3 separate regions of the Homo sapiens genome follow, and regions 2 and 3 are each linked to region 1. Evidence: promoter capture Hi-C in human tissues and cell types (Jung and others, 2019). All regions are on one chromosome and are shown on one strand. The core of a region is centred on a gene start or on the middle of the fragment in contact, and the rest is flanking DNA. Distances in the headings are between cores, read along the strand shown.

What was found. Contacts are between HindIII fragments. The study calls those that stand out against the background at their distance.
Region 2: a contact is called between a fragment that was not itself captured here and the fragment with the promoter of ALDH1A3 in region 1, in 1 of the 25 tissues and cell types used here (bladder).
Region 3: a fragment that was not itself captured here is called in contact with the fragment with the promoter of ALDH1A3 in region 1 in 3 of the 25 tissues and cell types used here (IMR-90 fibroblasts, dorsolateral prefrontal cortex and pancreas).

Annotation. Positions count from the first base shown.
Region 1 is chr15:100,878,250-100,881,554 of GRCh38, reverse strand. ALDH1A3 (aldehyde dehydrogenase 1 family member A3) reads right to left here and starts at 1,724. Exons shown (of 13, transcript NM_000693.4): 1 at 1,549-1,724. The coding sequence starts at 1,647. It overlaps LOC124903575 (collagen alpha-1(I) chain-like), which reads left to right and starts at 1,752. Exons shown (of 1, transcript XM_047433433.1): 1 at 1,752-2,609. The coding sequence starts at 1,752. The coding sequence ends at 2,534. RefSeq lists an enhancer at 678-1,192 and a silencer at 1,684-1,803. The HindIII fragment of the contact is 10,500 bases long and covers 540-3,305 here.
Region 2 is chr15:100,927,684-100,930,988 of GRCh38, reverse strand. All of the region lies in intron 2 of LRRK1 (leucine rich repeat kinase 1), which reads right to left. Among named protein-coding and RNA genes, the nearest start is that of LRRK1, 10 kb to the right of the region's middle. RefSeq lists an enhancer at 718-1,671. The HindIII fragment of the contact is 4,366 bases long and covers 1-3,305 here.
Region 3 is chr15:100,843,589-100,846,893 of GRCh38, reverse strand. It overlaps the pseudogene PHF5AP6. Among named protein-coding and RNA genes, the nearest start is that of GCAWKR, 4.5 kb to the left of the region's middle. The HindIII fragment of the contact is 6,076 bases long and covers 1-3,305 here.

The sequences.
Region 1 (3,305 bases), core at 475-2,974:
TTTTGTATGTGGTCAGATTGCTGATAGGACTCAAAAACATAAAAAGTAAAAGGACCATAATACATTTACTGTCTGGTTTCTATATACAGTATTTTGAAATCCTGTACAACCAAAAGAAAACAAACAACCTCCCCACTTAACCATCAGTAGCAGCAGCCAAGCACCTGGGGTTAGGGTCTTACAAAATTCGGGTACCATTTTCACTCTTCCCAGAATTCGTGTTGGAATTTTCACTCTGAAGCTGATATTACAAATAAAACTACATTAAGAATAATTTCCAGCGTTTAGTTTACAGCGACGTGTCTTTGTTGATTACAGAGCCTTCTGAAAACAGTTAATTTAAATGTCTTGTGATCAGAGGCTCAGCCGACATTGGGAATTAAGTGCCAAGAGACCCAAATCTGAAGGCCACACATAGTGCCCTGCAACTTTCTCCGCTTGATTAAAATTCTTTGAGAAAGATAATTGCTACTTCTTAAAGTAAAACGGATGAGGAAATTCTCTAAGTGCGGTGTCAGCTGGAGTTGGGGGCTATGGGTAAAAGCAAAAATCAAGAGAAGCCAAAGGTGGGGAAAGTTAAGGCAATGGCTCTCGGCCTGGCCTGTGCCTCTAAAGTGCCCCAGCACCGGCCCACGACAGACGCGCACGCCAGACAGCCTGGGGGTGTCCTCCATCGGGTCGCGCTCCCGGACCCGGGTCTCTCGGCCCTCCTCAGCCCCAGCTCAGAGGCCTCGGAGGCCTCACCATCTTCTTTTATTCCTTTCTGCCCCGGGCAGGTAATCTCGCCGTTCTGCCAACGCTGTAGCCTCCCAGCCCACAGAGCGAGGAGGCAGAGAACCGTGCGCTTCTGCGGCCTCGCGACCCACCGCTTCCCAAAGGCCCAGGTCTGCGACCTTCCGGAGCGCGCGCCTTGTGTGTAAACACCGGGACCTCTGGGCTCCGGGGAGGTTTCGTCAGTAAGCGAGCACCTTCCTACTCCTCCTCGTTCTGCTGCTGAGCCGGGTATAAACTAAGCACGGAAGGCGCCCGCTGCGCTTTGCTCGGAGGACCCGCTTCCCCAGTCTTCCAACTGCAGCTCCGCCATCTGCCTCCCGGACTCTCTCTTGGCGCTCTCGGACCCTCCGACCCTCTCAAAGCCAGACTCGTCCACCCTGGAAATCATCGCAGGGGTTTTTGGGGAGGGAGCTCCCCAAAACCAGCGCGCTCCGAGTCAACGCGGCGCGCACCTCCACTCGCGATCAAAGCGGGCAGCGCAGGGACACGTCGGGGCCTCGCAGGGATGCGGGCGGCCCGGCCCCGCGCGGGCGCTGGACGGCCTCGGTTTCCCGGCTTCGAGGCTCACAGCGCCGAGCCCCGCCGCCTGCGATCCCGCCCGAGACGTCCCGCGAAAGGTGCGGTTTCTGGAGAGCCGCGCCCGGGCAGGGAGGCTCGGGTCTCGGCGGCGCCCGGCGGACCCCCGGCCCGCTGCTCCCTCGCCCCCGCCGCCCCGAGTCTGGCTGCCCAGCGCAGGGGCCCGCGGCCGTCGGGTGGGAGGGGCGCCCGCCTCACCTTGGTGAACTTGACCTCCAGGTTGCGGATGGGGCGCGGCAGGGCCGGCGGCTTCCTGTCCGGCTGCCCGTTTTCCACGGCCCCGTTAGCGGTGGCCATGGCTCCTCCGCGCTCCCTGGCCCGAGGCGCCCTAGTCTGCGGCGCACCGGCTCGGCCCGGACACTGCGCAGCCCGCTCCCGGGGTGGCAGCTCCCCGCCGCTTTATGCAGCGCCCCACGCCTCCCGCCCGAGGGGGCCGCCTAATTGGCTGCGGGACCGGAGGAAGGGAGGGCGGGCTGCGGGAGGGAGGAGAGGGGAGGGCGGCCGGCCCGCCTCACCCCGCCCCGCCCGCCGCCCCTGCGGGAGCCCGAGCGCCGGCGGCTCCACCCGCGTGCCGCGGACCGTCCCGGCGCCCGCGCCGCGCGCTCTCTCGCCCCGGAGGCTGCCTGTGGACGAGCTCCCCGAGGAGCCGCCGGGCCCCGGAAGTCGCAGGGCTGGGACACCCGACCCGGCAGGGAGCTGAGCCGCGGGGCCACGGCGCCCCGCTGCCTCCCCGAAGTCGGGCGGGCTCCCCGCGCGGCACATGCAGCCCACTCCCAGCCGCCGCACGGCGCGCTCGCCCGACTTCGGCCGGCTCGCGGCGCTCGGGAATGCGCGCTCTCCGCCGGGCCCTGCGCCGCGCCCGGGTCGGGGCTCCTGGCGGGGCCGCCCCGCGTCGCTGCGCACGTGCCCTGCTCTTGGGTCCAGCCGCCCGATCCCCGCTAGCAGGACAGACGCCCGCTGCGCCCCACCCTGCCCGAGCGCGGACAGCCGGCGGGCGCACCCCGGCCCAGCCGGCCTGGAGTCTCCCCGGGGCCCTGGGGCTTCGCCCGCGGTGGGGCAGAAGGCGAAAGCAAAGCGCCGGACCCGGGCGGCTCTCCGCCGAGGAGCCCTGGCGCCGCTGGGCCTCTGACCTTCGCAGGCGCACACCGCCTTCCATCCCAGAGCCCGGGGGGCAATTGATCTGATTTTTTAAATGCATAAATTATACCTCGATTAAAAAATGATAATTAAAAAAAAGCACATGAGACCTTTGCTGCTAATCGTTTTAAGAGTTTAAATTCTTGTCGCGCATTACTTCCCAGGAGGGGGAGGTAAGTCTAGCTCCTCTCCTTTTGCGATTTGGGAAACGCTCCATCAACTCCCAGGACTTGACCCAGGCCCCATCTGAGACACGGAAGCGGCTTCTGATGCATGCCATTCCTCAGGTCGCTGGAACAAAGACCGGAGGCACGGACTCCTGACAAAAGCTGTGCTTTAATCCTCAGATAGGCTCAGCCCCTTCAGTTCATCTCTTTCTGTAGGTAACCCCAAGTAATCAACAATGGGGAGGGGTCTCCTTATTTTCCTGTTTTGAGGCCTCCGTGTCCATCTCTCTGTCCCCTGGTGTCCTTCTGGATAGAGCTGGATAGAGGGGTAAGTTTTGAAGCTTTTGGAAACCCCACATCTGACCCTTACCCTGGGGTTGTGGAAAGGTCTTGTGCTGTTATGGCCTGGAGTGCACAGCTGAGGCCGGGGAAAGGGGATAATGGACCCTCGAGCGGGGCAGCCTTGACCGATATCGGCTGGCTAACACTGGCGAGTCTGAGCAATGCCAGCTCTTTCCTCAGCTGCTTCTGCAAATCCGGGGCTCCCTGCCCTCTTGGCTGGCCCCATGGCTCCCACTCAGATCTCCTGAAAACATCTGGGCAGATGTGCTATGCCACGGCCCCCGGCTGGGTGCTGAGCCCTAGCGTTTG
Region 2 (3,305 bases), core at 806-3,305, 49 kb before region 1:
GGACTCAGAATTGGGACTTCCAAAGAATAATAGCAGCTTCTTATTTTCATTCATCAAACTTTCCAAAAATGTGCGTGCAATTCACACACTCAAGTTTAGACTTACATGGCATTGGGAGTGGTGGGAGGGCTCCATTCCCAGAGAACTAAAGAATTTCATAAAAATCCCTAGTGATGGCTCCTTCAAAGTCTGACTCAGGCAAACCAGGAGGGGTGAAAATCCTTGTCGCTCTGCACAGGGGCCTGGGGAGGCCCACATGGACATCTCCCTGCTCTCAGGCTACTGATCTCTTCATGGGGGCCAGGGCAGATGGCTGGTAAGAAAATCTTCTCTCTTGGTGGCTGAATGCATGCCAAGTGAGCCTGGGCTGCTCCCTAGCAAGCACAGAGGCCACCAGATAGGGCTGCCCTGCACACCCCACATAAAGGAGGCCAAGTCAGGAGCAAGTGTGGGGTGGGGGAGGCCAGGGAGGGGGTGAGGACTGGGGCTCTGGTGAGCTACCACATTCAGGCTTGGGCCACCTAGGATGGGGTGGATCAGTGGGGGTGCTCCTGAAAGCCGGTCCACGGCAGGGTGGGGAAGCAGGTAGGGGCAGCTCTCCCTGTGGACCCAGGTGTGTATGGCCTAATAATTAGCCCACAGACAGACTGAGAAGTCAAAAAACTCTTGGATATCCAAGCGGAACGTGTAAAGTTGCCGGCGGCCTGTCCGTGGGATGGCTTACTCAGCCTAAAAAGGAATCTGCAGGGAGGGCAACACATCTGCTTTTAGTGACTCCAAGAAATGGGTTAAGGGATTCCGATCTGTCTAAATGAATAAAGCCTGGTGCAAAGAGAGCCCCACAGCATCCACTTCCTACCAGAGCTGCCCACAGAAAGGCTGGCGTTGTTTGCTAGGGAGTCAGCTCCCCATTGCTAGAAGTAAGCAAGCACATTCCAGACAAGTAACCAGGAGAAGATCTAAGCCTCAGGTTAAAACGAATGTTCAAAGGCTCATCAAGGGCCTGGAGCATCTGTAGCTGGCCTCTGCTTTGTAAGCATGAAGCACAGCTGTGCTAACTGCCACCTGCATGGATGGACGCACACAGCCACCTCGCCTGCCACCTGGGCCACCAATCAGCTTCCCTGTCCTTCTCCTCACTCATTAAAAGATTCCTGACCAGACGTGGCTGTGCTCCCTGGAGGGGCTGGTGAACTCCTGCAGCCAGGCTGGAATCTCCTTCCCTGCAAGGCCCTGCCTGCCCTGTTTCCTGTGGCTCTCACGGTGTGAACACAGCCCAGCACGTTCAGGCAGGAATCCAACAGGAGGAACAGGTCAGAGATGTGGGCTGGCTCATCACTGGGGATCTGTCCCTCGTAGACTTTCCTGCTGTGGCCTGACAAGAAGGCTGGCTGCCACCCTAGAGGCTCTTCCTAATTTGATCTATTTCCTAGTTCTATTTCTGGAAGGCAGGAAGAGACCCTACTTGAGCAAACCTCTTAGCTCCTATATTAAGGAGTTGTATTTCAAATACAGATTCGCAAAAGCCAAAGGAGAAAAAAACAAGACATTGGAAGTAGCCATGAAACAACCTGGGATTTGAAGAACTTCTGGAATGTTCCTTCTCCTCCTTTGGTCCATGCTGGGTCCGGTGGTGGGCAGTGCTCTGAGAGGTGTGTGACTGTGGCAGGGCTTTCAGGACCGAAGCGACGGCCACTCACAGAGAGCTGGGGGGGCGAGCCACTGCCTGGGTGATGTCTGCTCAAGTTCCACCCACCCTCCGCAATCCAGAAGTCTTCCCAAGTATTCTCCACCTGAATTATGTGGAAGTTTCCTGACTTCTCTACTTTCCAGGACAGCTCTCCTTGGCTGGCGGGACTGGTTTTTCCACTCTGGCTGGTGTCAGACATACTCAGAAGAATGAACATCTAATGACATGTTTGTCAAAGTAATGCGCGTCCTGCAGCCCATGCCCAGCATCTCATTGACAGCTGCTCTGTCAGCTGGCAAACTCTACGCCCATCAAAGCTTTCCAACCATTCCTCTTGCACCGCAGGCGAGCTGACTGCTGCTGGTGCTAATGAGGTTGAGATTGTCACACACCTTCCTGGGACACAATTGTGTTGCACAAACACACAGCGGGCCGCACGGCAGGGCAGACACACACAGACCCCAGCCTCACACCAGCTGGGCAAAGCCCCCCACATCCAGGGGCTTTGAAAGGATTAACCATTGTAAACAAACATGAGCTGAGGTCACGCAAGTCACAACAGGTAGGGGGTGTGAAAAGGCGTGCCTAGTACACAAATAAAAAATTAAAAATACCATTACCCCAACACCCAAGAGTAGACACTCTTTTTTAAAGTGTGGGTCTTTTTCTAACGCACACGTGGAAGTATAATAAGAACGTCGTCGTTTTCAATCACGTTATCTTCCAAGGATTTTTAAAGCATGAGAAAGCTGTCCCTACATAATTTTGAGTGTCGTTAGTTTTCCTTCTGGCGGCCAACTTTTCTCAGCCGGAGCTGGAAATTAGGCCTGAACAGTGTTCCCTGAGTGAGGCTGGTGGATTTGGGGGGTGGGAGAGGGGAAACAGGGCTCCCTATCATCCCAGGAAGTCTAGGAGAAGGTGGGATGGGACAAATCCAGCTTAGGCTCTGGGGACATGTGCAGAGGGTGAGTCCTGCGGGGGGATCAGCTGCAGTCATAGTAAGTCAAGTATTCCGCATTTATTCCAGAAAGACTTCAAGGCAAAGAGGCCAGTGGAGGCAGATCTAACTTTGGATGTAAGCACAGGAGGTTTACCGTTTAGATTCTAAACACAAATCATCAGTACTTAAATAAACAATAATTTAAAAATAACTTGCAATATTATTCGTCTGGATGCAAAAGAAGGCAAAACAAAACAAAAAGCAATGTGTAGATATTGCAGGAAACATAAACAGCACCGATGAGCAAAGCACAGTGACTGCAATCCCAGCACACAGACGTGGCCACACGCCACCCTTTGAGCATTACCTGCTCCTTGGCTGTAGTCTTAGTGTACACATTTATTAATATATTCTGCGAAAATGAAATCCAACATGCAATGCGTTAAAATTGGGCTTTACAGAGGGAGCACTGTAGGCTTTAGTCCCTGGAATTAATAACTTCTGTTAGTGAGCTCCAGGGCTGGGGCTCACAGGCTCAGTTCTGCTGGTACCACCTGTGGGACCTTAAAACTCTGAGTATGGGTATAAATTAGTAGCTTCTCACCAGATTCCTTATGAGGATTTGGTTATTATTGTAATTCATTAACATGTAACATAATTTTCTTAATGCTAAAC
Region 3 (3,305 bases), core at 418-2,917, 35 kb after region 1:
TTTCTAAATGAGGCGAATTCATGAAAGGAAAGGGAATGATTTCTAAATGGAAAAAGATAGGTTTATGCACTGGGTTCAGAGTTATCTTAATAGGTAGCCCAGTGGCCAGTTTCATCGGGAGCGACAGCAAAACATCATCCTGATTTGATCTTTTGCTGCAAGCAGGCTGGTGGTTGCCATCAGAAGACTGTGTCAAAAATAGAAATGGCTCCCCAAAGATTGTCAATTTGGGGAGCTCTAAGACAGACGTCTTCCATGAATGCAAAAAATACAGCTTCAAGAAGAGGTAATTGGGTGGGGCTGAGTGGCTCATGCCTGTAATCCTAGCACTTTGGGAGGCCAAGGCAGGCGAATCACCTGAGATCAGGAGTTCCAGACCAGCCTGGCCAACATGTCGAAACCCCATCTCTACTAAAAATACAAAAATTAGCCGGGTGTGGTGGCACATGCCTATAATCTCAGCTACTCAGGAGGCTGAGGCATGAGAATCATTTGAACCTGGGAGGCAGAGGCTTCAATGAGCTGAGATTGTGCCACTGCACTCCAGCCCAAGTGGCAAAGCGAGACTCTGTCTCAAAAAAAAAAAAAAAAAAAAAAGATGATTGGTGGGTGTCCCCTTCCTCTTCCACATCAAGCTGCTGCAGCTGCCAGAAAATAAGCCTTCTGCCACCAGCAGAAAGGGAGCAGAGCCCAGGGCATCACCAGGAGCGCCTGGTAATATACCAGCACCTTGCCACCCCTCCTCTCCCTTCACCCAGACACATGAGAGAAATGGAAAAGGATTCTTCACAGAGCACTCGGGCACACTGTATCAGAGAAAAACTGATAGATTCGTTCATGGTTTTTCTCGAATTCCAGAAGCAAAGCTCTGTTCTCCATATTGATATGTTCTCCCTAAACTTAGGTCTTCTAAAAAGAAATAATATTTCAGTCTGCTGCTTGAGGAGTTGACAGTGAAGCTAACCCAGTGAAAAACGTGTTCTTGCAGCAACTCTGGTGGCAGTTGTCCTTGAGGGGGCTTTGGTGTGTGGAAGCTATCAAAACAAGAAATGTGCACATTTAGTCTTGTAACACTTACCTGGCGGTGCTGGTTTCGTGTTATTTTCCTTTAAAAAAATTGGGGACCCCGCACGGTGGCTCAAGCCTGTAATCCCAGCATTTTGGGAGTCTGAGACGGGTGGATCACTTGAGATCAGGAGTTCGAGACCAGCCTGGCCAACATGGTGAAACCCCGTCTCTACTACAAATACAAAAATTAGCCGGGTGTGGTCTTGCGCATCTGTAGTCCCAGCTACTCGGGTGGCTGAGGCATGAGAATCTCTTGAACCCAGGAGGCAGAGGTTGCACTGAGCGAAGATCGCACCACTGCACTCCAGCCTGGGCAACAGAGCAAGACTCTGTCTCAAAACAAACAAAAAATGCTATCACATTAATAAAGTTGGTGTTTATTTTATTTTATTTTTATTTTTATTTTAAAAAAAGAGTTCTCTTAGGTAAATACACAGCTACTCTGATTCGAGTCTCAAATGGGACCTAACCATGAGCCAAAAAGCAGAGTGGTCAGATGATTTCTGATGCACCCCCTGCTGTCTTTCTGAAAGGCACAGTGGCAGGATGCCTGAGTGTCCGGGCCTCTGCTCCTGGAGGGGTCAAGAAGCAGCCCACGCTCAGATACTTTCTGGCCCCTCCCTAGGGCCACTTGCACACCTCTCTCTCCAGTGACATGAAAGAACCTCCCTGAGAGGCCAGAATCAGACATCTGTGACCTGGGCCCTTCAGGGGTAAGTCTTGGTCAGCAGATGCAACCCTCTAAAGTGACCGACTTTATCTGACCTTGGGACAATGGGTCTAAATGACCCTGGGATAACAGCTAAGGGTGGCTCCGCCTAGGCAAGGTGTTGTCCCCATGTATCTTTCCCAGATTCGAAGGCCTCTTAGCCCTTCACTTGATCAGGTGGCAGAGACCTCACACCAGGCAAACAAGCTGTTCACACTGTGGACCACATACCCTCCAGGTGTCATCTGAGGTCATGTGGTCATGCTTAGAAAACATCGCTCTCACCGGAGCACCCGACGTTGTCGCGTTAGGAGTGGGCCCACATTTCACTCCAGCAATCCAGCCCTGTCTAAAACATACCCGGACAGCTCAGGGCTTGGGGAGCATGATTTTGATTTTCCTTGTAAGTGACAAATCCTTGTTCTTTGAGGGCGGGCTTCATTTTGAAAACAGTTCTAAGTCACTCAGATCTGGTGTAGAAATAATCATAGTAGGTAACACCATTTTTGTTTTCTTTAAAAAAAATCTTTTGAACGTAAGCAAGGTAATGAGATCACTTTTTTTTATGAGACTTATTAACCTTTTTTGGTGAGGTTTATTGGCAAGGTGAGTCCACATTCTGCAATTCCAAGCATGTTCCAAAGCTGCATCGTGGGAGCGGGAGTCCAGCCACCCAAAGGGGCTGCTTTGAAAGGCAGCACCCGGAGGAATGTGCGGATTTGGATCCAGCTGTTCGGGACTCAAGTCTATTCCATGCTTTTCCAACACAGCTGCGCTCTGACAGAGGCACCCACTAACTGGGTCCATCCTACGTCCTGGCACTTCCCCACACAGTGACCTGCATGCTTGTTAGTTGCATCCAGGTTCAAGAAGCATTTATCTAAACAGTACATTCTGTAACTTATTACATGTCATCAGTCAATCAGCCAGAGATCATAGTACGGAAACTATTTGAATTATTTTCTGCTTTCCTTCAAAATACTGTCCCAGGGCTGTTGTGGGTCACTGACATTTACAAATTATCCTCACATCAAGAATTAGAGAATACTTTGGACTCAACCAAAAACAAAACCAACAACAACAACAACAAAAACCACCAAACGAATCCTCACTGCAAACTCTATTTCAGAGGGTCTCCGTAGTACCAGCGTCTTCTGGTACTAGGTCTGTATCACTAACTTCTTTCTTGCTAGTTTCCCATTATCTACGTTAAAAAAAAAAAAGAGCATGTCCCAGTTAAGTGACTTGTGCTTATTTTTGTGAACATAACTCTTGTTGCTAAAATAGGACAGGGTAAAGCTGATGGTCCCGCTGTAAAATATGAAAAGTTTCCAATTTCTTCTATTACCTGGTAAAATGTTTCCCTTCCAGAGAGACAGCTAGAATTTAGCTGTCCAGCAAGAGGACTAAGCAACTTCTCTGCCAGAGGGTGGTTGAGCCCTCAAACCCGTGCTGCCGACTTTAGGTTGTACATGTATGTATTCTGGGGAATGTGTGCAGGATTCTGGTTTGGCTGTATTTCTGGACG